Regions from separate parts of the Homo sapiens genome. Here all the other regions are linked to region 1. Evidence: promoter capture Hi-C in 16 types of primary human blood cells and fetal thymus (Javierre and others, 2016). All regions are on one chromosome and are shown on one strand. The core of a region is centred on a gene start or on the middle of the fragment in contact, and the rest is flanking DNA. Distances in the headings are between cores, read along the strand shown. Region 1 holds the start of TP53I11 (tumor protein p53 inducible protein 11). Region 2 overlaps LINC02687 (long intergenic non-protein coding RNA 2687). Region 3 has its middle 25 kb from the start of CD82. Region 4 holds the start of LINC02696 (long intergenic non-protein coding RNA 2696). Region 5 has its middle 5.4 kb from the start of CD82. Region 6 overlaps SYT13 (synaptotagmin 13). Region 7 has its middle 18 kb from the start of CD82-AS1.

Evidence for each region. Contacts are between HindIII fragments. The CHiCAGO score rates a contact against its expected background, and 5 or more counts as called.
Region 2: a contact is called between a fragment that was not itself captured here and the fragment with the promoter of TP53I11 in region 1, in 1 of 17 cell types (naive CD4 T cells). The highest score is 5.4, in naive CD4 T cells.
Region 3: a contact is called between a fragment that was not itself captured here and the fragment with the promoter of TP53I11 in region 1, in 1 of 17 cell types (naive CD4 T cells). The highest score is 5.4, in naive CD4 T cells.
Region 4: a fragment that was not itself captured here is called in contact with the fragment with the promoter of TP53I11 in region 1 in 3 of 17 cell types (activated CD4 T cells, naive B cells and total B cells); the score reaches 7.0 in activated CD4 T cells.
Region 5: a fragment that was not itself captured here is called in contact with the fragment with the promoter of TP53I11 in region 1 in 5 of 17 cell types (neutrophils, naive CD8 T cells, activated CD4 T cells and 2 more); the score reaches 6.6 in neutrophils.
Region 6: a fragment that was not itself captured here is called in contact with the fragment with the promoter of TP53I11 in region 1 in 1 of 17 cell types (non-activated CD4 T cells); the score reaches 5.5 in non-activated CD4 T cells.
Region 7: a fragment that was not itself captured here is called in contact with the fragment with the promoter of TP53I11 in region 1 in 1 of 17 cell types (naive CD4 T cells); the score reaches 5.6 in naive CD4 T cells.

The regions. Positions count from the first base shown.
Region 1 is chr11:44,949,269-44,952,654 of GRCh38, forward strand. It overlaps TP53I11 (tumor protein p53 inducible protein 11), which reads right to left and starts at 1,615. Exons shown (of 7, transcript NM_006034.5): 1 at 1,409-1,615. RefSeq lists silencers at 1,385-1,514, 1,545-1,804. The HindIII fragment of the contact is 12,322 bases long and covers 1-3,386 here.
Region 2 is chr11:45,372,338-45,375,723 of GRCh38, forward strand. It overlaps LINC02687 (long intergenic non-protein coding RNA 2687), which reads left to right. Exons shown (of 5, transcript NR_122071.1): 1 at 1-503. Among named protein-coding and RNA genes, the nearest start is that of LINC02687, 2.6 kb to the left of the region's middle. The HindIII fragment of the contact is 2,392 bases long and covers 648-3,039 here.
Region 3 is chr11:44,539,368-44,542,753 of GRCh38, forward strand. It overlaps the pseudogene RPL7AP79. Among named protein-coding and RNA genes, the nearest start is that of CD82, 25 kb to the right of the region's middle. RefSeq lists an enhancer at 428-1,034. The HindIII fragment of the contact is 480 bases long and covers 1,513-1,992 here.
Region 4 is chr11:45,354,997-45,358,382 of GRCh38, forward strand. LINC02696 (long intergenic non-protein coding RNA 2696) reads left to right here and starts at 375. Exons shown (of 2, transcript NR_120558.1): 1 at 375-606; 2 at 1,400-1,661. The HindIII fragment of the contact is 6,359 bases long and covers 1-3,386 here.
Region 5 is chr11:44,558,598-44,561,983 of GRCh38, forward strand. No RefSeq gene overlaps it. Among named protein-coding and RNA genes, the nearest start is that of CD82, 5.4 kb to the right of the region's middle. RefSeq lists enhancers at 566-1,202, 3,238-3,386. The HindIII fragment of the contact is 2,347 bases long and covers 526-2,872 here.
Region 6 is chr11:45,273,738-45,277,123 of GRCh38, forward strand. All of the region lies in intron 1 of SYT13 (synaptotagmin 13), which reads right to left. Among named protein-coding and RNA genes, the nearest start is that of SYT13, 11 kb to the right of the region's middle. The HindIII fragment of the contact is 1,223 bases long and covers 882-2,104 here.
Region 7 is chr11:44,621,603-44,624,988 of GRCh38, forward strand. No RefSeq gene overlaps it. Among named protein-coding and RNA genes, the nearest start is that of CD82-AS1, 18 kb to the left of the region's middle. The HindIII fragment of the contact is 4,125 bases long and covers 1-3,386 here.

The DNA of each region.
Region 1 (3,386 bases), core at 365-2,864:
GGGATCTGCGGGCCGCAGATCCTGGTCCCCTCTCCACAGGCCGTCAGGGGTGGAGGTCCAAGGGACCACATAGTTGGGGTGGGCAGCCCCGGTGACTTCTCCCCGCAGGCCCGCCCCGTCAAGAAGTTTGTTTGAAAGAAACCAATCAGGAAGTGCAGGGTAGTGGGGCGGTGAGGGGGCCTTGGCCAGCCGCTCTGGGCTTTGGAGGAGCCTGGGGGTTCTTGGCCTCCGCGCTGCTCTTGCCCCAGCCTCCATCTCTCCGGCGGAGAAACCCACTCCCCCCGGGCTCCAGGAAGAGGCGGAAGCCCGAGACTGGGTCAGGGCGAAGGAAGGTAGAGCGAGGGGACCCAAGGCGAGCGCCCCGCCCCGCCCCGCCCAGCGGGGCGCGCCGGGGTGGGCGCGGCGTTCTGGCCCTTCCTCCACACAGCCTCCCCCGGGTAGGTGCGAGTGTTCTGCCCACGGCAGGGGCCCTAACCCACCCAGCGCCCGGCCAGTGGCCCCACACTGTACCCTTCCTGCAGATCGCGCGACTTTGGGGAGAGTGGGGGGCGTCTCCACCTGTGCGTCCCCTACCCACCCCCTAACTGGGCTAAGGCGCGGCCTGGGTTTCTGCCCGCCCCTTTCCAGCCTGGGGACGGGGGACTCTCTCAGCCTCGCCCCTCCCCCTGCAATCTGTCCCTGATGTCCCCGCTCCAGACACTCACCCACTTTCTGAGACCCAGGCCTCAGCGCCGGTGTCCCCCGGCGGTGAGCTCCGAGCCGTTAGGCGGCCCCGGGTTCTCCGGCCCAGGGCCCCTGCCCCCAGGCCCCCACCCCAGAAGGTCGGGCCAGACTTGTGGGCAGCGGGAACTCCGCCACCACCTCCGTCCGCGGCCCTGCGGGGGCAAAGACTGGGGGAACTCGCAAGTTTGCGCCGCGCACTCCTCCTGCCGGGAACAATGGCGGGAGGGGGAGGGGACAGAGAACCGAGCGCGGGGGACCGAGTCAGACCCCGGGGAGACAGAAACTGCTTTCGCTCCGTTTCTCTCCTGCTCTGAAGCAGAAAGCTCGAGCCCGAGAGGCAGTGGCCGAGGACGAAATAAGCAGTCCAGGAGGAGGGCGACCGCGGAGCCGGGGGAGAGGGGAAACCGAGTCAGAGGGAGGGGCGGCGAGGGGAGAGCGCGCAGGGGAGACGGAAGGGGCTGCGGGACGGCGCCTTGGGGAGCTGGGGAGGCGACCCCCTGGGGTCCCAGCGGGCTCAGCGGGTGCCGAGATGTCCCGGGGCGCCCGGTTAGCGCGCGCGGGGTCCCGGCCGCCCCTCTGCGGTCCCGTCGGCCGCAGGAGCCCCGCTGGGTTGCGCTGCGCAGGCGGCGGGCGGCGGGAGGGGAAAGTCCGCGGCTCGGAAGCGGCGGCGGGGAGCAGAACTTACGGGCCTCGCGCGTGCCGGCGCTGGGCTACGTGGAGCTGATGCCAGGCGGAGGCTCCGGGCTCGGACGCCTCACATCGCGCCGCCCGTGCCGGGCCGGGCAGTGCAGGGCAGGGCAGGGCAGGGCAGGGCAGGACAGGGCAGGGCAGGGCAGGGCCGGGCCGGCTGGACTGCGCGCGGCGCCCTGCGCGGCCGGGGCTTACCGAGTCTGGCGGCCCGCGCTGGTCCCTCCTCTCGGTTCCGCGCACAAGCCAATGGCGCGCCGTCCCCTCCCACGCGCCGGGCTGCCTCGCCCCCAGGGTGGCCGCCGGGGCGGGCGGGATGGGGGTTGGCGGGGAAACCAGGCTCCCGGCTCCCCCGCGAGGCTCTCCCGGGGGCCGCCTGCAGGGGGCGCACGCGCGCCCGAGAGAAGGCGCCGGGGGAGGAAGCCGCGCGGGGAGACCCTGGCGTGGCCCGCGCCGCCCAGGATGACTTTCCTGGCAAGTTCTGCAGACGGTGCCCCTTTCTTGGGACGATCAACGTAGATGGGCAAACCACACCATCTTAAATAGCCTTGCGGTGTCTCCCGGGCCCAGGCCGGTGCCTGAAATGGAAGGGACTGCTTTGGCTGGCGGTGATACCCAAGTGTGTAATAACACAGTCACGACAATAGTCACCGTTTGCTGCGCACTCTCTGATGCCAGACACCATATGCTAAAGGAGTTACAAGTATTAACTCATTTGATTTTCACAGCAACCCATAAGGGCGCTGTGCTTAGTCCCATTTTACAGGCCATGGTCGTTAAAGTTTGAGTTCACTCAGCCTTCAGGCTTCCAGCCTAGGCCCACCCTTCTCTCTCCCTGCTTGGTGTGACTTGGCCAAATAACATGACCCCACTGTCACTACGGCCACCTTCTTCATACTCCACCCTAAAATCCAGCCTCAGAGATGCTGCTGTCAGTTGCGCTGTCAGGAGGCTAGGATCTTATCTGGGGCTCTAGGACGCTTGTTGGCGCTACAGTTGTCAAACCTTTTGTCTCTACACATCCTATGGGGGGCTGGGGTGAGGATGAGGGTTGGGGGTCATGGAGGCTCTCTGGTGGCGTGTCAACCTGAGAGAACCAGGCTCCTACAGACAAGGCCCCACCCCCAAATTCTGGGCTCCTTCAACCCCTTATGGTGGGAAAATAATGTGCTCTCTCCCACCCCAACCCCCACCACCCTGTGCTCTCCTTAGAGAAATGCCTGGATCTCTTTCATCTGATCTGATGGTCACAGTGGGCCAGGAACCGGGGTGGGGGGCTGCGGGAAAAGGAAGGCAAGGCTGATGACATGCTCCATTTCACAAGTAAATAAGACAGAAAGAGGTGAGTGGCTGCCTCAGGCATCTAGCTAGGTGGGCATTCTGACTCCAGGTCTCGGTTCTGTCTGCACCAGTTCCTTAACGGTTAATAGAGCAGGCTCTGGAACCAGATCACCTAGGTTCAAATCCTGACTCTGCCTTTTAGTGCCTGTGTGGCCTTGGACAAAGTAAGTCACCTAGAGCAACCAATAGTAAGAACCGGCTATGGTTGCTGTAGAGATTTAGAGTTAATAGGAGCTGCTCATGTTTACTGTGCATGGACTCTGTGCCATGCAGGCTCCCACTGTCCTCACCAGAGCTGGGATTGGGCAGGAGAGTCTGTGCCCTTGGCAAGGAAGTAAACAGAACAGTCCTTGGTTCATAGTAAGTGCTCAGTGAATATAAACTGTCCTGATTACTAAGGTAGATAAACTCTGATGCCCCAGTGCCACTGACACTGCCCCCAGCCAAACACCTAGACAGTGATAGCCAATAATGAATGAATCAATCAATCAATCAAAGTATGTGACTCTAGATGAGGATTATTTTTAAGGTGTGTTGGGTGGAGCCATCTGACTCAAGGCTCTATAGTAATTTCTGCAACAACTCAGTCTCACCTCACTGCCTTTACAGAGCTGGGCCAAGCTGGGTTGATGAAT
Region 2 (3,386 bases), core at 594-3,093, 420 kb after region 1:
CGTTTCACTGTCACCCAGGCTATAGTGCAATGGCGTGATCTCAGCTCACTGCAACCTCCACCTCCCTGATTCAAGTGATTCTCCTGCCTCAGCCTTCTGAGTAGCTGGGATTATAGGCGCGCGCCACCACGCCCAGCTAATTTTTGTATTTTAATAGAGACGGGGTTTCACCATATTGGCCAGGCTGGTCTCCGAGCTCCTGACCTCAGGTGATCCGCCTGCTTTGGCCTCTCAAAGTGCTGGGATTATAGGCGTGAGCCACCGCGTCCGGCCCAGGGACACGATTATTAAAGGGCAGAGAGCCAGACTGGGGAGGCAGGTGTGCTCCATTCCCAAGCCCATGCTTGCCCTGGCTCTGCCGGGAAGACAGTAGGTGCTTTGCTTCCTGAGAAAGGTCAGGAAGAGGCGTGGCTCCTCCAGCTGTACAGACGACCAGGCCAGATCCACATGGCCCCGTTTGGTGCTTGGATGTCTGGTAAACTGCCTGCCAAGGAGGAACGCAGGTAGGACAAGAAAACTGTGGGTGGTGAAACGCATGGGGAATGGGTTCTGTGCCGCCAGTGAAATGGTCTTTCAGCCGCCAGGCTCCAACTTGGCTGACTTTAGAAGAAATCAGCCAGCCATGGATTGCTGGAGATTCAGACACAAGCTTTCCAGGCCCTGATGAGTCCTTGTTTTCTTCCAGGACAACTGGGTTTTGGGACTGTAAGCTATGACCCAGATCTTGGTTCCCATTTCGCACATGAAGAGAAGATTGGCCCTTAAAAAGCAAAATGCTTTAAAACAAAAACAAAGAAAAGAAAAAAAAGGAATTCATTTTTTTGCTTGCAATTTATTGTTTTCTTATAATCTTATAATGACCATCAATTTGGATTCAGAAATACCTGCATCAAAAGGTCATATCGGTGCTAAGACCTGACTTCCCTGCATCTCAGTTGCCTCCTCTGTAAGATGGCATCACAAACACTCCCCATGCCATCGGGCTGCTGTCACTGGTTCTTGTGTGTGGAAATGTCAATCCCAGGGCCTGAGGTGTGCAAAGTCAATAGTGGTTCTCTCCCCACTTCCACCCCCCAGTTTTTCTCAAAGCCTGTTGAATGTATGATGTGTCCTAAATGGAAGTGCTTCCACGGGGCACTGAGAGGATGGGTGATCTCTTCTCACTGCAGTCAACTGGCTGAAACGCTCACCTTTTCATCTTAGCATGTGAGATGTGACACTCTGATCCCCGGAATTGTAAATTCAGACTCTCAGAGAGCTCAGGATGGCAAAATCCAACCTCTTCGTTTTTAAGATGGGGAAATTGGTTTGCACAAGGTCATGCAGCAGGTTTGTGGCAGAGCTGGAACCCACACCTGCTGATTCCCAACCTGGTGCTCTGTCTGTCATCCTGGGTGACAAGGAGCCATGGAGGCCGCAGGGAGGAAGGACCATGGGATGCTGTCTTGATCCCTCTGGCCTGTGACTGTGAGGGAGGCTCACTCTGCTCTGTGAGCCCCATCACATGGGTGTCGTGTGTGATGGTGAGTGGTGCCTCCCTTATAGAAACGAAACCCCAAGAGCCAGGAAGAGCCCATCATCATCCAGATTCATAGGGAAAGCCAGCTCCTATCAGAGGCATCGAGGGGTGAGGAGGCCTGCCAAACTTGGAGTTGAGTCCCATTCCTGCCTCTTGCCAACTGTGTGCCCTGGGCAGGGGATTTCTTGAGTTGAGCCTGTTTCCTTACGAACTGAGGAGAGTAGAATTACAAACCCATAGGTTAATGTGAAGATTCAACAAGTTAATATAATACTAATACTTAATGAGCATTTACTATGTGTCAGGTTGGGTTCTAAACTCTTTATATGTATTTGCTTATTTAATCTTCATAACAACATAGTTTGCTGCTAAGGGAATGGAGGTTCAGGATGGTTAAACAAACCCCAGGGACAAAACTGGAGAGGACAGTGTAGATTTTGAGCCCAGGTAGCCTGGCTCTGGCACTCTACTCTTAACCACTGTGCTCTTTGACCTCAATTTCGGCAGAATCCAGTGCTTAGCACATAGAAGCTCCAAAAATGTCCACCCCTCCCTTGCTGTCTGTAACCAGCCTTCCTCATCCACCCCTTCTGGACCTCAAGAGTGGGTTCTAGAAGCAGGGTTCTGTTATTTCTCAGACACCAAAAGTTGACCCAACTCGATTGCTCTATCTTGAGTTATTTTACTTCTCTGTTTTGTTGTTGGTTTTGGTTTTTATTGCCTTTTCTTTGATCAAAAGCAAGACTGAATTGCCTACAAAGGCAAATCTGATTCTGTGCTCCTGAGCACCAAGTGAGCCTCAGCGATCGGCTCAGCTTAGCTCCTAATGCCAACCAGTGAAGGAGCATGGTTTCTTGGTTTCTAACTGCTCACATTCATGGCTAAACCCCCAGCCCTAGACGAGCTTCCTTGACCAATCTGGGGGAAAAATACACCTTCTTGATTGTGGGTTTCTGGCGACACTTGTTCAATTTCCTGGTTACTATAGAGACCTTGTCAACACATCCAAATACTCTTCTTAGCAAAGAAATTTTCTTCTCCCCAGTCTCTGCATAGCCCCAAAGAACACAGGGTCTCAGGAAGAAGCAGGAAAGGCTTAGCCTATGGGCCTTCTGAGCCCAGCCCAGGCTCTGGTTCCCTTTCAGCTGCTTGCAGACTTTGAGCCTACAGAGGATAAAATGAGGGAATGAACAAGGAGCGCTGTTTGAGTGGGACTGAGCTTCAGGGCAAATAAAGGGAAGTGAATCAGAACAATGGAAAATCTGGCCAGGGTATTTAAACATTCAAATTTCTTTCTTTTTCCAGTGACCTAAGGACAGGCAATCTGCACTGGGAATCTGGATCCCTTACTCGTAATATTATGGCTGGAAGGGCAAGGTCAAGACTCCCAGTGGACTGGATACTAGGGTTGGGTCTCAGGTCTGCTCCTGATGGCCGAGGCCAGCAGCTACATTGCATTTATACAAATGGTTAGCGGAGCTCCCAAGCTGGCTCCTGTCTTTCCATCTCTGCTTATTGAAAGCTTACCCATGCTTTATGACCCTGCTTTGTTGCCACCACCTCCAGAAAGACTTAGAATCGATCTCCTCTTTTGCCCTTGTACCTCTCATTATAATCTCATCTCTCATCACCTCCTGCCCGACGTCATGGTTGCTTGTATGTCTGCCTTTATTCCAGAAATTCTCATCAAGCTGTAATTATGGGGCAGGCCCAGAGCTAGTCACTGGCGATGAGAAAGATCTAATCCCTGTCCTTATTTCAGGGGCTCCCATATGCTCAACAGCCTGGCAGAGACGGACAAGTCCACACGTAATTTAAGCAGACGGAGAGGGATGTGCTGAGTACCTGGGGCATCTCTGCCTGCAGA
Region 3 (3,386 bases), core at 503-3,002, 410 kb before region 1:
ATTAGCTTCGCTTTACAGATGAGGAGACTAATGATCAAAGAATGCGAGTAACCTGGCCAGGGTCATGAAGCTTGAAAGATGCAGAGTCAGGTTTTGAATGCAGGCCGCCTGGCTTTGAAGCCTTGACCTTCATCTCAAGGTTATGGGACTGCCTCTCTGTACACCTGGTACAAGTAAGGCTTCTCTGGCAGTAGGGGTTGGGGGGATGTGAAGTTAGGAACCACACTTGCTCTGCCCATCCCCCACCTCCTCTGGATTCCTAAGGAACCATCAAAAGCTGCCGACCCCAGTGTGGAAATCAGTGCATGCATGACATCGATAGGTCTTAAGCAGGGAAGAGGGAAAATTCTTTTTGAAGGAGAATTTGTATCATTTTAATGATTTTTATGTACAGAAAATGAAAGTGTACATTTAACCCAGTTAAGTGGCAAGTTCTTTAACCTTTGCCTTTTCCAACTTGGCAATGCAAGCCATAGATTTGGGACCCAGGATATTGCCTCCCCAGTGACGACGGATATCATCATATCTGTCGTTGTAATTAGTCCTGACAGCTTCCACCAGCTTCATCAAAACTCCTTTGTCTTCTGAGTTAACCTGTGTGAAGGCAACAGTGGTGCAGGTCTTCCTGTGGACTGGACGTTCCAGTCTTGCCTTCCCCTTGATAATGCAATCAGAGACCCACATTTTACAATGCAGGGCAGGCAGGAAGACAACAAGCTCGATGGGATCCTCGTCATGTCAAGTGCTACTCAAAATGGTTAGGCCCATTGTCTCCAAGCTACCTGCTGAGAGGTGATCGGCCTAGCATGCACACTCTTCTCTGCGGGAAGCAGCAGGCTGGCAACCAAACGTCTGTTCACATGCAGTCATCACTGGCTGAGCCTTCTTGTTCTCCACCAAGGGGTAACGGTGTTGACTCCTGCTTGAAGGACAGGTAGTCTCTTAGTGAGGATGTCCCCTTTGCTGTCAGCTTTCTTCTCAGCCTGGGCCAACAGCCTCTGCTTCTACTCTTGCTTTGTCTCTGGTCTGTATTTGTGGGTCAGCTTAGGCAGCTGAGTAGCTGGTGGTCCAGGTCCTGGGTGAACTGGTTAATCACAGGGGGCACTTTCAGCCACTTATAGAGGATGGCTCTCTGCCGCTGCAACCTGATATAGCAGGGCCATTTCACAAAGCGGCTGAGGTCACTTTTGGGCTGGATGTCCAGTGCCAAAATTCTTAGGCCTTTTCTTAACAGAGGGGATTCACCACTTTCTTGGTCTCCTGCTTCTCCATGACAGCAGGGGCCGGGGCCACTTTCTTCCCCCTGCGCTTCTTTCCTCTTGGCATCTTGGGAAGGTGGAGGAGCAGAAGAAAATAGATTTATGTGTTGCAATGGTTACTCTAGGGGTGGAGCAAGGAACTCAAACCAGAAGCTGTGATCAGATTTGGGAGGTGAACTGGGGAGGGAGTAGAGGGCACAAGAGCAGAGGAGGAAGGATGATCTGTGTTCACTGAGGAGATCACGTGGTCATAAGCTTGATTTTTAACTTACTTGGAGTGAGGTATGTGTCTAATTTGTCTCTTGAGCCAATCAATTTATTCACAGCCATTTGTAGAACATCTACTATTCACTGTTCTCAATGCTGGGGACACAGTGGGAAACAAGGACATAGGTCCTGCTTTTATGAGGCTTACACTCTTGTTGTGGGAGGGGGTCTAATAATGACCTAATAAGTAAATAAGATGAAGATGGTGATAAATATCATAGGGCAGATAAAGCAAAGCAATGTGCTGAGAGAGGCCAACCCAGCTGGTTTGAATTCTTACGCTGCCACTGGCTGTGCAGATCTAGGAACTGAGTGTTTCTGGCAGAGGGAATGGCAGATGCAAAGGCCCCGAGGTGGGAAGGTGCTTGGGGCATTAGAGAAACAGAAAGTGTGACTGAAGCATGAGAGGAGAGGAGGTCAGACAACTAGGCGGGGGTTAGAGCACATGCCTAGAGAAAAAAAAAAAAGCTTTGATTTTTGTCCAGGGCAATAAAACACTGTAGGAAAGTTTGGGGCAGAAACATGATAAGGTCTGATTTGCATTTGTAAAGTATCACTCTGACTGCTGAGAGGAGAAGGATTGTAGGGTGGCAAGAGTGAAAGCCAGGCTAAGTGTGGTGGCTCACGCCCATAATCCCAGCATTTTGGCAGATCCAGGTGAGAAGATCACTCAAGGCCAGGAGACCATCCTGGGCAACATAGCAAGACCCTGTCTCTAAAAAAAAAAAAAAAAAATTATCTGGGTGTGGTGGCACGTTTGTAGTTCCAGCTACTCAGGAGGCTGAGGTGGGAGGATCACTTGAGCCCAGGAGTTGGAGGCTGGCTGCGGTAAGCCGTGATCACACCACTGTACTCCTGCCCAGACAACAGAGTGAGACCTTATCTCCAAAAATAAAAAATAAAAATAAAAAAGACTGAAACCAGGGAGTTGAGTTGTCCAGTTAGGAGATGATTGCATTAAGCCAGGAGGGCGATGACGGTGACTTGGAACAAAAGGGTGGAAGGAGGCAGATCAAAAGCATTGGAAGGTAGAGGTGGCTGGGCTTACTGAAGGGCTGGAAATCGGGGTGGATGGGGAAGATATGTCAAAGGAAGGAACCAAGGGTATGTCCTAGAATTTGCACCGTGGATGAATGGTGCTGTGACTTACTTAGATGAGGATGACAGGAGGAACAGGTGTGGGGCAGATGCTAAAGGGAAGAAGAGTTCCACATGTGGTTGCATGAGAAGAGATGAGACATAAAAATGCATATATGAGTCCAGGAACTGTTGAACAGATCAGATCTGGAATTATAAATCTAGCTGTCATCTCATGAAGAAAAGGTGATCCATGACCAGGGAGAAGTGATTCACAATTCTATATCCAGCCATAAAAAGAGCTCCCATCGATATCGCTATTAACACCACCAATGTCAATGCCATTCTTGCATTACCATTGTTGTCATCAGGATCACCACCATCATCAGCAACACAATCATCACTATCACCACCACCACCATCATTATCATCACCATAATGACCTCTCATTACCTCACCATCACACTTCACCATTCTTCTCATCACTACAGTCATCACTCCCATCATCACTGTAGCAACCAGCATCTGCATCATCATCGCTATAGCAACCGCCACCTCCATCGTCATCACCATAGCAACCATCTCCATCATCACCACCATAGCAAACACCATTACCATCCTCATCACCATAGCAACCACATAATTCTCATCAGATACCATCATCAGCATTGTTATCATTGCCATCAATGTTATCACCACCTCTCCCACCATCAGTGTCACTAGTAACACCACCATTTTCATTCTCATAACAACTCTAACAACTATCTATCACCATTTCCTCCA
Region 4 (3,386 bases), core at 607-3,106, 410 kb after region 1:
GCTTCTTTAAGTATCCTGTTTTACCAGCAGGGTCTTTGTGACCTGTATCTTGTGCTGACCTCCCTGTCTCATCCTGTGACTTAGAATGCCTAACCTCCTGGGAATGCATCCCAGCAGGTCTCCACCTTCTTTTATGCAGCCCCTATTCAAGATGGAGTCCCTCTGGTTCAAACGCCTCTTGACAGTTCATCTTTTCAGTGTTTCCGGCTAGGAAATTTAAATGTTTGTCCATCTATTCACTGGGCTCTGAAGCACTCATTTAGTACACTGAGAAAGGAGAGGGAGGGGGGATGGGAGGAGGGGAGGAGCAGAGAAAGGAGAGGAGGCGGAGACGGTTAGTCTAGCCTCTCTGTGGGGCCTCTCTGCTGGTACCCAGATGCTGAGCGCTGAAATTCTCATCCGCCACACACAACATGGCGGCTTCCTGGACCCGCGCCCAATTTTCGCTTCCGGGATGGAAGCTACGTCATTTCCCCCTCTGTTGCCCTAGCGCCCCTTGGAAGCCAAGAATATGAGGAAGTCTTCTTCCTTCGCGCCTTCTTCTTCCTTACGCTCCAGGGCAGCCTGACAGAGCCGCTCGAAGGCTCTGCTGGCCGCGGCTAGCCGGTGAGGAGGGTGGGGGGAGGGGCCGTCCCGCGTGTGGGGGAGTCTGAAGGCGACCAACGAGAGGGAGGGCCGGAGCGGGGAGGTGGCTCGGAGGCATGTCCAGTAAATTGGGGATGAAAATCCTCCCAGGAACCCGATTATTAATGGGTTGAGGGAAGTGGCAGGTGCAGCGGTTGCGCAAAGACAATGATGCTTAGTAGCCAGGACTTCATGGCCACAAAATTTGTGTGTAGAGAGGGCCACAGCAGCCTGAAAACCATTTTCGTCCCCTTTTAGGTTTACCCATTCCACTGGACCCAGCCACCACCCACTCCTGCTGTCTGGTAAACTTTCCTCCTGTTTCTGGGGCCATGTCTGGCATGAAGAGTTTTTACTGAATAGTTTTCATTGATCGCAGGCCAGTTCTCTCTTCTCACCCCTTTATTGAAGTGACAGTGAAAATCTAAGTGAGAAAGCACTGTTACAGGGGCTGAAAAGGCTACAGGAGACCAGAGCCATTGACTTTTATTTTTAAAATGAAGATCTCTTTTACTTGAAGGAACTTAAGAATTTTGGCATTCAAATAGGGGCTGGAAGACTTGAAAGCAGTAGAAATTTCACCACAGGTGATAGGAAAGGATGATCACGAAATGAATATCTCCTGACTTGCACACCTAGTGAGCAGAGCCAGGAAGGACCTCCTTCACCTTAGCATTTGGAACAGGCTGCAAAGTTCATTCTTCCTCATAGCAGCCCCTGCATTCAGTTTGGTTTAGTTGTTTTATGTGGTTTCTAGCCTGATTTTTTTTTTCAGGGTGCAGCAGAAGTCTCAGGTAGCTGAGAAGTTCATGGAATCTTCTTATTTGCTACACCTTTCACTACTGCTTGTGATATAGTGCAGGGTTGGGATGTGCAGACATTTCTCAAGTGCACTGTGTACCTACACAGCATGCTGCAATTTGGCTACTGAAGTCAAGAGAAACTGGTTTGAACAACTACTGAGTGTAACATAGGAAGCGCATTTCATTTGATAACAGGAACACAGCTTTTGTGCTAATAAAATGCTTTGAAAATTAGTGTGTGGTCTTTAGTAATTAGCATATACATTTTAGTTATCCATTGGTTCATAACAAACGGACTAAATAGGTACCCCACTGAGTCATTTATCTAAATGAAAAGTTTGGTTAAATTGTAGTTGTAGGCATTGATCAAAGCTAATGGGAAAAAGAGATTAAGATGAAAATCATGGGATTAAATTTTTAATTAGTTTGCCCCTTGGACCGTTGCTTGGTATGACATGGAGATTGATTGGCTACTTATGCCTGCCTGGGAAGATATGGCTCTGCTACCAAACCTCTGAACGTAAGAGTGTTTTGCAAAAAAACTGAATATTTTATTCAGTAATTTTTCACTTTATTCCTGCTTAACAAGGAATTGAAAAGGAAGGCAAGGTCTTGGATCTCATAGTTCTTGGTATAGTGATAGATATAAAGTATGAGATGGGGGCTTCAGTGGGTTCATTAATAAATATCTCAAATTAACATGTCTAAGTCAAACTCTTCCTTTCCTGCCCCCAATCTCTTCCTCTCCCAGGGCTCCTTATGTCAACTAATGGTGCCATCATTAGTGCACTCAAAGCAAAAACCTGGGAACAATCTTGATTCCCTCTTTCATTCCCCACAGCTCACCCATCAACAAATTCGATCCGCTTTTATTCTAAAATATATCCTAAATCCATTCACTGTTCTTATCTCCACCACCCTAACCCAGGCATCATCATCCTTTACCTGGTTAACTGCAAGATCCTTTTCATTTAACTTCCCTGCTTCTAATCTTCTGACCCATTTTCACCATCCCAGTCCATTCACCACACAGTAGCAGCCAAAATATTTGTTTAAAATGTAAGTTAGATTCTATCACTTTTGTGTTTAGAATTATTGTCTTCCCCCACTAATTACTGTGCCCTATGTGATCTGGACTCAATCTGGTACCACTCCCTACCCCTTCACTCACTATAATCCAGACATACTATCTTTCTTTCTTCAACCTGCCAAGTTTTATCCTGCCTTAGGGTCCTTGCACTAGCTGTTCCCTTTGCTGGAACCCTCTTCACCCAGTTATTGCAGAGCTGGCCCTCTCTTGTTTAGAGCTGAATTTCAATGTGACCTCTTCAAATAAGTCCTCCCTTGACCACCCAAACTCATGTACCCCCTTGTTACTCTCTGTCACGTCATCCTGATTCAGTTTCACCACAACACTCATCATTACTGCTATTTTCTTGTATCTTCCTTTGTTTATTGACTGTCTCCTCCCATTAATATGTAAGCTCCCTGAAAATAAACATCTTGTCTATATTGTATGACTGTATCCCCAGAACTTCAAATAGTCTGTGACATATGAATGAATGAATGAATGAATGTACGAATGGATTCTGCTTCCCCAAAGCTGCTGCCATCTCATCTCAGGTACATTGAAACAGGAAGGCTGGTAAAGGCCAGGGGGTCAAATGCTACATAGAGTGGAGCCTGAAGCACAAGATGTGGGCAAAGACACAGTGGAGAGGGGCAAGAAAAGCATTTGGGATGGAGGGCAGAGGGTCTGGGAAGGAACATGGAAATGATATAGAACAACTCTACAGATATGTCCTAGACATCTTAAGACTTGTACAAGCATGCGTGTGCCCGCACATACACACATACCAGCTTGAAGAATCTTGTCTCAGCACATGCTCTGTACTTGAGTCTTAGAGAACACTTTTCTTGGTAGAGATGTTTAGGCTTCAGCATTAAGGAGTCTGATTC
Region 5 (3,386 bases), core at 449-2,948, 390 kb before region 1:
GCATTATGGGAGGCCGAGGTGGGTGGATTGCCTGAGGTCAGGAATTCAAGACCAGCCTGGCCAGCATGGTGAAACCCCGTCTCTACTAAAAATACAAAAAAATTAGCTGGGCGTGAGTGAAACACACCTGTAATCCCAGTTACTTGGGAGGCTGAGGCAGGAGAATTGCTCCAACCCAGGAGGCAGAGGTTGCAATGAGCCAAGATTGTACCACTGCACTCCAGCCTGGGCGACAGAGTGAGAATCTGTCTCAAAAATAATAATAATAATAATAATAATAAATAAAATAAAATATTTGTCTTTGTGCATAGTTCATATTATGCAAAATGGCTAATAAAATAGTACATACATATCTATTATAAACAAATGACATATATTGGGATGTATATAACCCTACCATGGGTTTAAGCTGATGCCTAAAAAGAAAAATAAACGGGTAGAACAGGGAATTTGGGGAGGGGGGGACATGATTTAATAGTTTCAAAGACTTACCCAAGTGCCACAGTTGTAAGATAAATATAAATAAGCTTTAGAATATGTAAAGTGCTACGCAAATGCTAGTTATCAAATTAGTTAAATATATTTAAATTAGTTATTTTACAGCTTACTTTTAAAACGGTGGCTGCCATTATTAGTGTCGTAGTTGCTATGGCAACATGGCAATGTACAGGGGCTAAAAGCCCCCTGAAGAGTAACCCCTGGACCTTCAGATGTAGTAGGCGGCAGGGCAGGATTTGAGCAGGGGCCTCACTGATCTTTCTGAAATGACTGAGACAGGAACAAATCAATGGCTCAGTGTCTTCTGTGGGAACTCAGCCCCTGTCCTCAGCTACAACCCAGCTATAATGGGCTTAGAGTTCCAATCCCCTTTAAGTGCTTTGGAGAAAAAAATAAAGGTCGGTGGTCCTGCTGAGCCCATTCAAATGCAGGAATGACTGTGTTCAGGAATAGAGAAATGGAAACAGAAAGTGTGGGAAAGTGCTATTAACCACTTCCTGGCCTGAGACTCGGCAAGAGGACAGAGGATAGGGCGGGGTTATGCCAAGCAAGTGCTGGAGCCCAGCTTTCTGGGGCCAGCCTTCTTTCTGTAAGCAGGAAGCAGGGTCCCTTCAAGGCCCTGGGGAACCTCCTTGATCCAGTGCGAGCTTTTGCGATTCAGTGTTGGGCGCTCACTGGGTCCCAACTTGGGCCTTTCCCCTAGGGCTCAATTTCAGGAACTGAAAATTGGGTTAGCTATATATAAGCTGCAACTTCACTTTCCTCCATCACTTGTTAGTTGTATGACTTTAGCATCTGAGTGCTCCATTTCCACATCTTGGGAATGGGCCTCATAATAGTATGTGCCTCACTGGGTTGTTGCTATCAGGATTAAATGAGTGCAATTTTTAAGTTTGTAACTTTAAGGAAACAGTGCAGGTTTAGGGAGGGAAGTGCTAACTCTATTCTGAGGACTCTTGAAGAAAGATCTTAAGACATCCACTTACTAGGCCAGGCGCGGTGGCTCACGCCTGTAATCCCAGGATTATGGGAGGCCGAGGTGGGTGGATCACGAGGTCAGGAGATCGAGGTCATCCTGGCTAACATGGTGAAACCCAGTCTTTACTAAAAACACAAAAAAATTAGCTGGGCGTGGTGGCACACACCTGTAGTTCCAGCTACTCACAAGGCTGAGGCAGGAGAATCACTTGAACCTGGGAGGCAGAGGTTGCAGTGAGCCGAGGTCGCACGACCACACTCCAGCCTGAGCAACAGAGTGAGACTCCATCTAAAAAAAAAACAAAAAAAAGACATCCAGCTACTCAAGACCAGTTGTCCACTGCTGAACTTCTTATTCATTTGTGCACAAATGCTTGTGTGATACATACTGTATACCATTTTTTAAAACAATCAATTGAGTTTGAACTCTCAGCTCCCATCAGAGAAACCCTCCTCCAGTCATTCTGAGGACTCGCTTGGGGCAGATTGTATTTTTCACAGATGGCTGCAACAATATCTCCTTTCTTGAAAACTCTTCTAGAATTTTGTTACCCCCTGGTTAAGAAAGAGACTATGTACCCTGCTCTTGAACCAGGGCCTTGGTGACTGCTTCTACTAATAGGATGCAAAGGAAGTGATCCTATATGACTTCTAAGGCTAGGTCACAAAATGCCATGCACTTCTAAGTGAGTCTTTGTTCTTCAAAACCGGCAGCCAAATTATGAAGAAGCTCAAGCAACCTGTGGAGCAGCCTCATGGAGAGGACCAAAGGCCTCCACAGCTCTGGCTGACCTCCCAGCTGGCAGCAAGTGCCAACTTGCTAGGTGTGTGAGTACACCATCTTGAAAATGGATCCCCAACCTCCAATTGAACCACCTGACATTGCGTAGAGCAGAGATAAGCCGTTGCTGCTGAGCCCACCCCAAACTGCAGATTTATGGGCAAAATAAATGAGTGGGATGGTTTGTTACATAACAGTAGGAAACAGATACCCGCACTCATTCTCTTTACCTTCCTCCACCAGAGATGTGCAAAAGTCTTGGGGCCTTAACCTAGGCCCAGACACTAACAGGGAACTGGCCCCCATGTTCTTGCCTACAAGTTCTTTGAAGTCTCCTGCTCAGCTGTTCATCTTCCACCTTTGGGGTGGGGGAATCTTCTGAGAGCCTGGCAATCCTATAGCCATACCTCTCTGAGGTCTTGCCACACCACCGTCTTCCCCATCTCCAAGTTGGCCATGGATATCTTCTCTCAAGGCTTTCTAGGGTGGTTCTTCTCACCCCTTTTCCCACCTCCAGAACTCCTGGCTCCACCTCTAGAATGGACTAGAGGTAGAGTCTCACTAGAAGTGTCTGCGCTTTCTGCCTGGCAAAATGCCCAAGGTGAGTCATGACAAAGCTTGCCTTCTGCTGGAAGAGAGGGGATAGGGACAATGCTGAGGGAGCCAACCCAATGTGATATTTCAGTGAATGACTCTGCTATGGTTTGAATGTATTGGAAACTGAATCCCCAAATTCATATGTTGATGGTATTTGGGGGTAGGGCCTTTGGGAGGATTAGATAAGGTCATCAGGATGGGGCCCTCATGATGAGGACTGGTAGCTTTATAATAGGATGAAGAGAGACCTGCGGTGGCATGCCCTTGCCCTCTCACCATGTGATGAGTCAGTAAGAAGGCTTTCACCAGATGTAGCCTCTCAACCTTGGAATTCCCAGGCTGCAGAACTATACAAAATAAAATTCTTTTATCGATTACCCAGCCTATGGTATTGTGTTATAGCAACAGAAAATGGACTAAGTTAGACTCAGATGCACATCTACTCAACAACTGTCCCTTAAGCTTCCAGGCATGTGCTAGAAGCTGGGGAGACAAGGCCAAATGGCAATGTCACCATAGACCTGGACAAGAG
Region 6 (3,386 bases), core at 243-2,742, 320 kb after region 1:
TAATCATCCTAGAAGTGGAATGTTCATGTTCCCCTTTTCATTCTAACAGACACGTTTCATTTATCACGTCTGGAATACTGTTAATGAATTTTTTCTTTCCCGCATGGTGAATAGACAAGTCATTGCTTTGGTAAAGGATAAATAAGAAAATAATTAACAGATTCTTAAAAATATCCTTTGATCAAAGGCAAGTGCTGAATCCGTTGGGTGCTTTCATACGTGTCATCTCATTCATTCTTCCATATAACCTTAGAGAACCTTGTAGAATCCCTGTTTCATGAATGAGCAAAGTGGGATTCAGAATGGCTGTGGTGATTTGGCTAGGAGATGGTGGAGTCTGAATTCAAATTCAGGTTTTTGAGTCTCATTTGATTCCCATTTTAGCTCAGCATCTTGATTATAAAAGTGAACATTTTCATTCTGAGTTAATTTTTTCTTTCGAGTAGTCTCAAAGATTGTTACCTAAAATTAACTCCAATGGGTACCCAAAAATCAAATGCAAGGCTACAATGTGGTGGGATTAGGCTAGGCACCTAACCTCACGTTCATTCCTTTCTGTTCTTTGTCTCTATGTGTTTTGTATGGAGGCTGTTTTGCAAAGGGTGATAGTCATGTTGCCACTTAAAGAATCTGCTCCATTTGTTAGTAAGTAAGAGACGAGATCATTAGATGATGCATTGCAAAGAATGTGCAAAGAAACCCTCCAAATCATGTGAATATTTTCTCCTCATGTCACATCACTGCCTTCACTGTATTCCTCTCTGATAGCTTCCCCTTTCCTCTATGTGAAGTGACTGTGCTGGAAATCAAAGTGTATTTTAAGATGCTCCGCGATATGCTCTGAGAAGCAGGGTGCAGGGGGCATTCAGAAATGCAGAATAAGCTTAAAGCTAACAGAAGATATTCTACACTTGCAGCTGTTTCAATCAACTCTTCCAGTTGCCTTACCAAACCGCTTTTACCCAACCTTATCTGCATCTTCAAACACCATCTTTTCCAAAACATCCTTCTTAATTCTATTTGAAAAGCAAAGTCTTTGCAATCCTGCCTCAATAAACCTACAGCCTTTACATCGTGCTGTTCTTACCAGAGAGTCCAACCTGTGTGGTTTATAATGCTCTTCCAAATAAAACATCTCCCTGGGTATTACCTCATTGGCCTTGCAGGTGAAGATTTAAAAAACTCTCTCTAACGTTAGCCAGATGAACAGAGACCTGAAAGGAGAGAAACCTGTAAAAAGTGAAGTTGCCACATGCTTCCTGCTGGTCTTGATTTCTTGATATATCACTAAAGGCAAGCATAGAGATCCTTCGGTGGACTCAGCACCCTCCCCTGCTTCTCTGTGCCTGTGGTTTTCATTTTGGCTACAAGCAGAGGTGGCAGCCCCACAGATCCCTACCTCCTCATTTGTCTACCCATCCATTCATCAATGTATTCAGTCATTCAACATGTCTCCTCACTTCTCTTTGCCATGTGCTAAGTCCTGCTCAACTTTCTGTGACAGAAAAAGCATGTCTTGGACTTAATGAGTGGAGGTGGGGATAGGGAGAGGAATCAATGAAATATGTCAAAATATTCTAGGGTCTATGCCAGATGGACTGACTCAATTTCGCAGAATTCTCACAGGACCCCTCTCTCCTTTACGCTTGTTTTCATTCATATTCATATATGCAACTCCCCCTCATTATTTGACTCTGATCTGTTCCTAAAAACATGGTGATTAGCAGATTTCAGAAAGCAGGCACTGGTACTCCATTATTTTAAGGGAAAAATTATAATGCATTCCAAGTCTACCCCAAAACCACAATCAACTTCCCCAAATATCATTGTAACATTCTTAAGCAGTGTGTAAAAATCTCCCAGGACTTTTCTATAACATAAGGCAATTACAGCACCCTTTATCTAATGAATTGGGACTTATTGAACTCCTCCTGAAGGTTCATTGTGTGGGCAGCAACTGGCCCTGGAGAGGGGCAAGGCTCCTCCAGGCATCACACTGGCCTGGTAAGGAAATATTGAAAGACCCTAAATACTGCCTCAATTAGATGGGGTTTGCAGGGCCTGGGTATTGGGGGGAATTTTAGTGGGACCCATGAGGGGCTAAAGCTTGGGGGAACAGAATGGGAAAGATGACAATAATAACATATTTGACAGACAGAGCAGCAGGTGCAAACTTGCTGGAAGAACAGGGCAGCCAGGACTACTGCACACACACTCCATTCCTCTCACGAGACTCATGAACAATGAAATGTTTTTACGGGTTGCCCATGTGGACTCATTTTAATAGTTGCTCAATACAGACAGCAAATGTTTGTTGAAAACTCGCCAGCTACTGTGGTTTTTGGATATATACCCAAAGGATTGTAAATCATTCTTCTATAAAGACACGTGTACATGTATGTTTATTGCAGCACTGTTCACAGTAGCAAAGACTTGGAACCAACCCAATGCTCAGCAATGATAGACTGAATAAAGAATATGTGGCACATATACACCATGGAATACTATGTAGCCATAAAAAAGGATGAGTTCATGTCCTTTGCAGGGATATGGATGAAGCTGGAAACTATCATTCTCAGCAAACTAACACAGGAACTGAAAACCAAACACCACATGTTCTCACTCATAAGTGAGAGTTGAACAATGAGAACACATGGACACAGAGAGAGGAACATTACACACCGGGACCTGTCAGTGGGTGGGGGACTAGGGGAGGGATAGCATTAGGAGAAATACCCAAGGTAGATGACAGGTTGATGAGTGCAGCAAACCATCATGGCACATGTATATCTATGTAACAAACCTGCACGTTCTGCACATGTATCCCAGAACTTATAATAAAAATTTTTTTAAAAAAACTTGCCAGCTACTGATGAATATTTTAAAAGTGAGAATTTGGGGTTTTTTTTTAGATATTAAAAGCTCAGAAAATACCGCAAAGAGATACTACTTTGCACCCAGTAGGATGACTTTTTAAAAAAAAAAAATAAATAAAATAAATAAAAATTAAAATACCAACTGCTAGCAAGGAGGTGGAGAAATGGGAACTGTCATACATTGCTGGTGGAGATTAAAATGGTGCAGTTGTTGTGGAAAGCAGTTTAGCGATTCCTCAAAATGTTAAATATAGAATTACCATATGACCCAGCAATCTCACTCCTAGGTATATACTTGAAAGAATTGAAAACAGTTACTCAAATATTTCTACAGGAATGTACTTAGCAGTACTATTCACAATGGCCAAAAGGTAGAACCAATCCAAATGTCCATCAATGGGTGAATGGATAAACAAAATGCCATGTACCCATACAACAGAATATTTTTCAGCCATAAAAAATAAAGTACTGATACATTCTATGATGTGGATGAACCTTGAAAACATGATG
Region 7 (3,386 bases), core at 335-2,834, 330 kb before region 1:
CAGCGGTGGGGTCGGCTGTGGGTCCCTCTGTGGCCTTGGTCGCCTCCCTCTGGGATGGGGGCAGGAGAGGAAAATGTCGATGGTTCCACCTGGCCTGACTTCCCTGGCCCCCCACAGCTTCCACCCTCAGGAAGGGTAGCAGAGAGCTGTTGGGTGTCTTTTCATAAATGCTTTCTCACTGGGAGCAAGGGGACCTGAGTTTGAGTCCAGCTGCATCTCCATCTTCCTGTGCGACACGGGGCCTGGCAGGCTGAGGGTGGGCTCAAAGCTGTTTGCAAAATAGAGGACTGAGAAAACGTCAGAAGTTAGCGAAGGGGTGGGCTGCTTCCTCTGACACGTCCATCCTGCCCAGAGCTCACAGCTGGAAGGGGCCAGAGCCAGGATTTGAACCCCACGTATCTGACTTCAAAGACCATCCTCCTGGCTCCACTGGCTCCTGCCCTTCCAGATTTCCCAGAACAGCCCCAGGACGTGTGTAGTGTGAGGCTCTGACCCTCGCTTTTGTGAAATCTGGTCACTGTGAGCTCTGAGCCTGCTGGGTTCCTCATTTCAACCTCCTGGGGAGCACCCAGTTTCAGCAACCCACTTACTCCCAGCCTGTGAGGTTTTGGGAGGGAGGGAACATAGACCCATGTCTAACACTCAGAATCGTCCCTGCAGCCACTAATCTGTCCCATGCCCATCTGGGGCTTCCACACCTTCCAGCTGCCCTCCCTGGGCCCTCTGTGGGCTGCCATCTCTCCTGCCAAGGGCCCTGACAGGCCCAAAGGACTGGCACATGGGTACCATGTGGAGGAGAGTACAAGGGTGCTCCTTGGCAGTGCCCACCCACAGCTCCCTGGGGCAGCCAGGAAGAATGGCTGGAGCAAAGGGTTGCTCTTTGGGCTCCCGTGGGAGGTTAGAGACAGTGCCTAGGATGTGTTCAGGGAGCTGGACTTTGGGGGGCACTGATTGGCATGGCCACTGACCAATAGGTATGGAAGTCAGGCCTGAGCTGGAATGGGATCCTTACGTATGGATTGGCGGGAGGTGCAGGAGCTCTGAGAGATTGAGCTGGGGGGGAATTTTCAACTGGTGTGGAAATATTTCTCCATTTTATTCATAATAACTGGTATGGCTGGCTGGGTGAGTACTGGTGAATGGCAGCCTGATACATGTGCACATACATGCATGCACTCTCTCACACGCACACACTCGAGGCCCTGAAGGCCCCTGAGGGCTCAGTCCATTCCCAGCTGGGAGGAACCCTAGCTCTTCTTCCCTGAGACTAAGCCATGGGTGGCCCGTAGTGAACAGGGAAAGCCAAGTGTCTTCCTGCCTGGCCTTCCCGGGCCTACACTGCAGAGCCCCCTCTGCCGCTGATCACCATCCTGTCTCCTAGCAGAGCTGCCTCCAGCCTCTGCCCCAGATGATCTTCCAGGTGAGCAGGTCCCCCAGGCTGAGAGCAGCCGGGTGGAGGGGCACACTGGTGACGCTGGAGCATCTAGCCAACAGGCATCTCCTGGGCCAGCGCTCCCATCGCCTTTCTCCCCTGCAGAAGGACAGAGACCCAGGTTGCTACGCTGCCTCGGGGCAAATGTCTGGCTGTTCTCTGGGGTCTTTAGAGGCTGTAGGCTAAGGTTTATTCATTTATTCATTCATTCATCCCATGAATACTTAATGGCACAGACTATTTGTGAAGCACAGTTCTAGGATCTTAGGAACACAGCAGTGAACACACACAAACCCCCTGCCCACATGGCACCTGCATTCTGATGAGTGTAGAGACTCTTGCACACAACTGATGCACCAGGACACACGTGCACACACAGCACACGCATGCACACAGCACACCCTGCCACACGTACACAGGTACGTACCAGCACACACTGCCGACTGCTGACAGCACAGTCTGAGCCAAGTGCTGCTGTGGGATCCCTGGGGCCCATCCAAGGCCCCTTCCTGTGGAAGGAAGTAGAATGAACAGCGCGTCGAACAAACAGGAAAGTAGGAGGAAGTGCTCATCGCCCCTGCCACAGTGCAGGAATCAGCCATTGCCCTGGCAATCCCCTTCCCAACTGAAATCAAATAGAATCAGAGCAGCTGCCACTGGACGTGACAGGCTGTGCAACTTCACCTCTCTTAGTCTTATCGGGAAAATGGGGACTCTCATTCCTCACTCCCAGTGCTGTTGTGGGAGCCAAATGCGGTCACGTACACAGTGAGCTCATTCCCCAAGCAGCCCATTCCAGGACTGGCCCCAGCTTCAAGGGGAGGTTTCCCATCCTCTGGGGGATACCTTCCCTGAGTAGGAATGAGGCCCACGGGAGGACTTTGGGCCTTGGTGCCTCCGGGGCAGGGATGGCTGATTGGCCCAAGGGGCTGGGGCTGGGGCAGGTAAGACCTGTACTCAGCCTCTTGCCTAGTGGGAAGGTGAGCAGGTAGGAGGGCCATTAGAGGACATCTGAGCTGTGAGCACCCCGGCCCCCAGCTGTCCCATCTGACATCATTTCCCCAGCACCTGCCTTCTGAGCAAGGGGAATGTCAGGCCCAGAGCCAAGTGCCTCTCCCCAAGTGACCTCAGATGCTTTAAGCAGTAGCCCCTGGGATAGGAGTGGGCTTCCTGCAGGATGCTGGGGGCAGAGGGGCGGCCAGCCAGAACAGCTGGGAGTGCAGAGGGGCTGTGTGGAGGTGGGGAGTGGAAGGAGAGAGCTGGAGAGTCTCCAGCAGCCTCTTGGAGGACTGAGTGGGCGGGAAGGGATGTTAGTGGCAGCTGATAGGAGTGGAGGGGTCCATCCTCTGCCCTTGCATCACACACCTGGGTGAGCCCAGCTTGGGGCTTCCAGGGTGACAGGGGCCCTGTGATCCCAGCACCCAATCCTCTTGGTCCTGGTTCATAGAGGACTCAGGCGCTTGGGGTGGTGTCTGAGTTCTTTCCATGGGGAAGCTGTCGAGGAACCCACTTGGTGGGTCAGTGGGGGTCTGGTAAAATGGAAGGAGAGAGGCCTGTATTAGTCCATTTTCACCCTGCTGATAAAGACATACCCAAGACTGGGCAATTTACAAAAGAAAGGGTTTTAATGGACTCACAGTTCCACGTAGCTGGGGAGGCCTCATAATAATGGAAGAAGGCAAAACGCACGTCTCACATGGTGGTAGACAAGAGAAGACAGAATGAGAGCCAAGCAAAAGGGGTTACCCCTCATAAAACCATCAGATCTCCTGTGACTTATTCACTACCACAAGAACAGTGTGGGAGAAACCGCCCCATGATTCACTTATCTCCCACTGGATCCCTCCCACAACACATGGGAATTATGGGAGTACAATTCAAGATGAGATTTGGGTGGGGACACAGAGCCCAACCATATCAAGGCCCTTCCCCAGAGGGGCAGGCTCTAAACCCA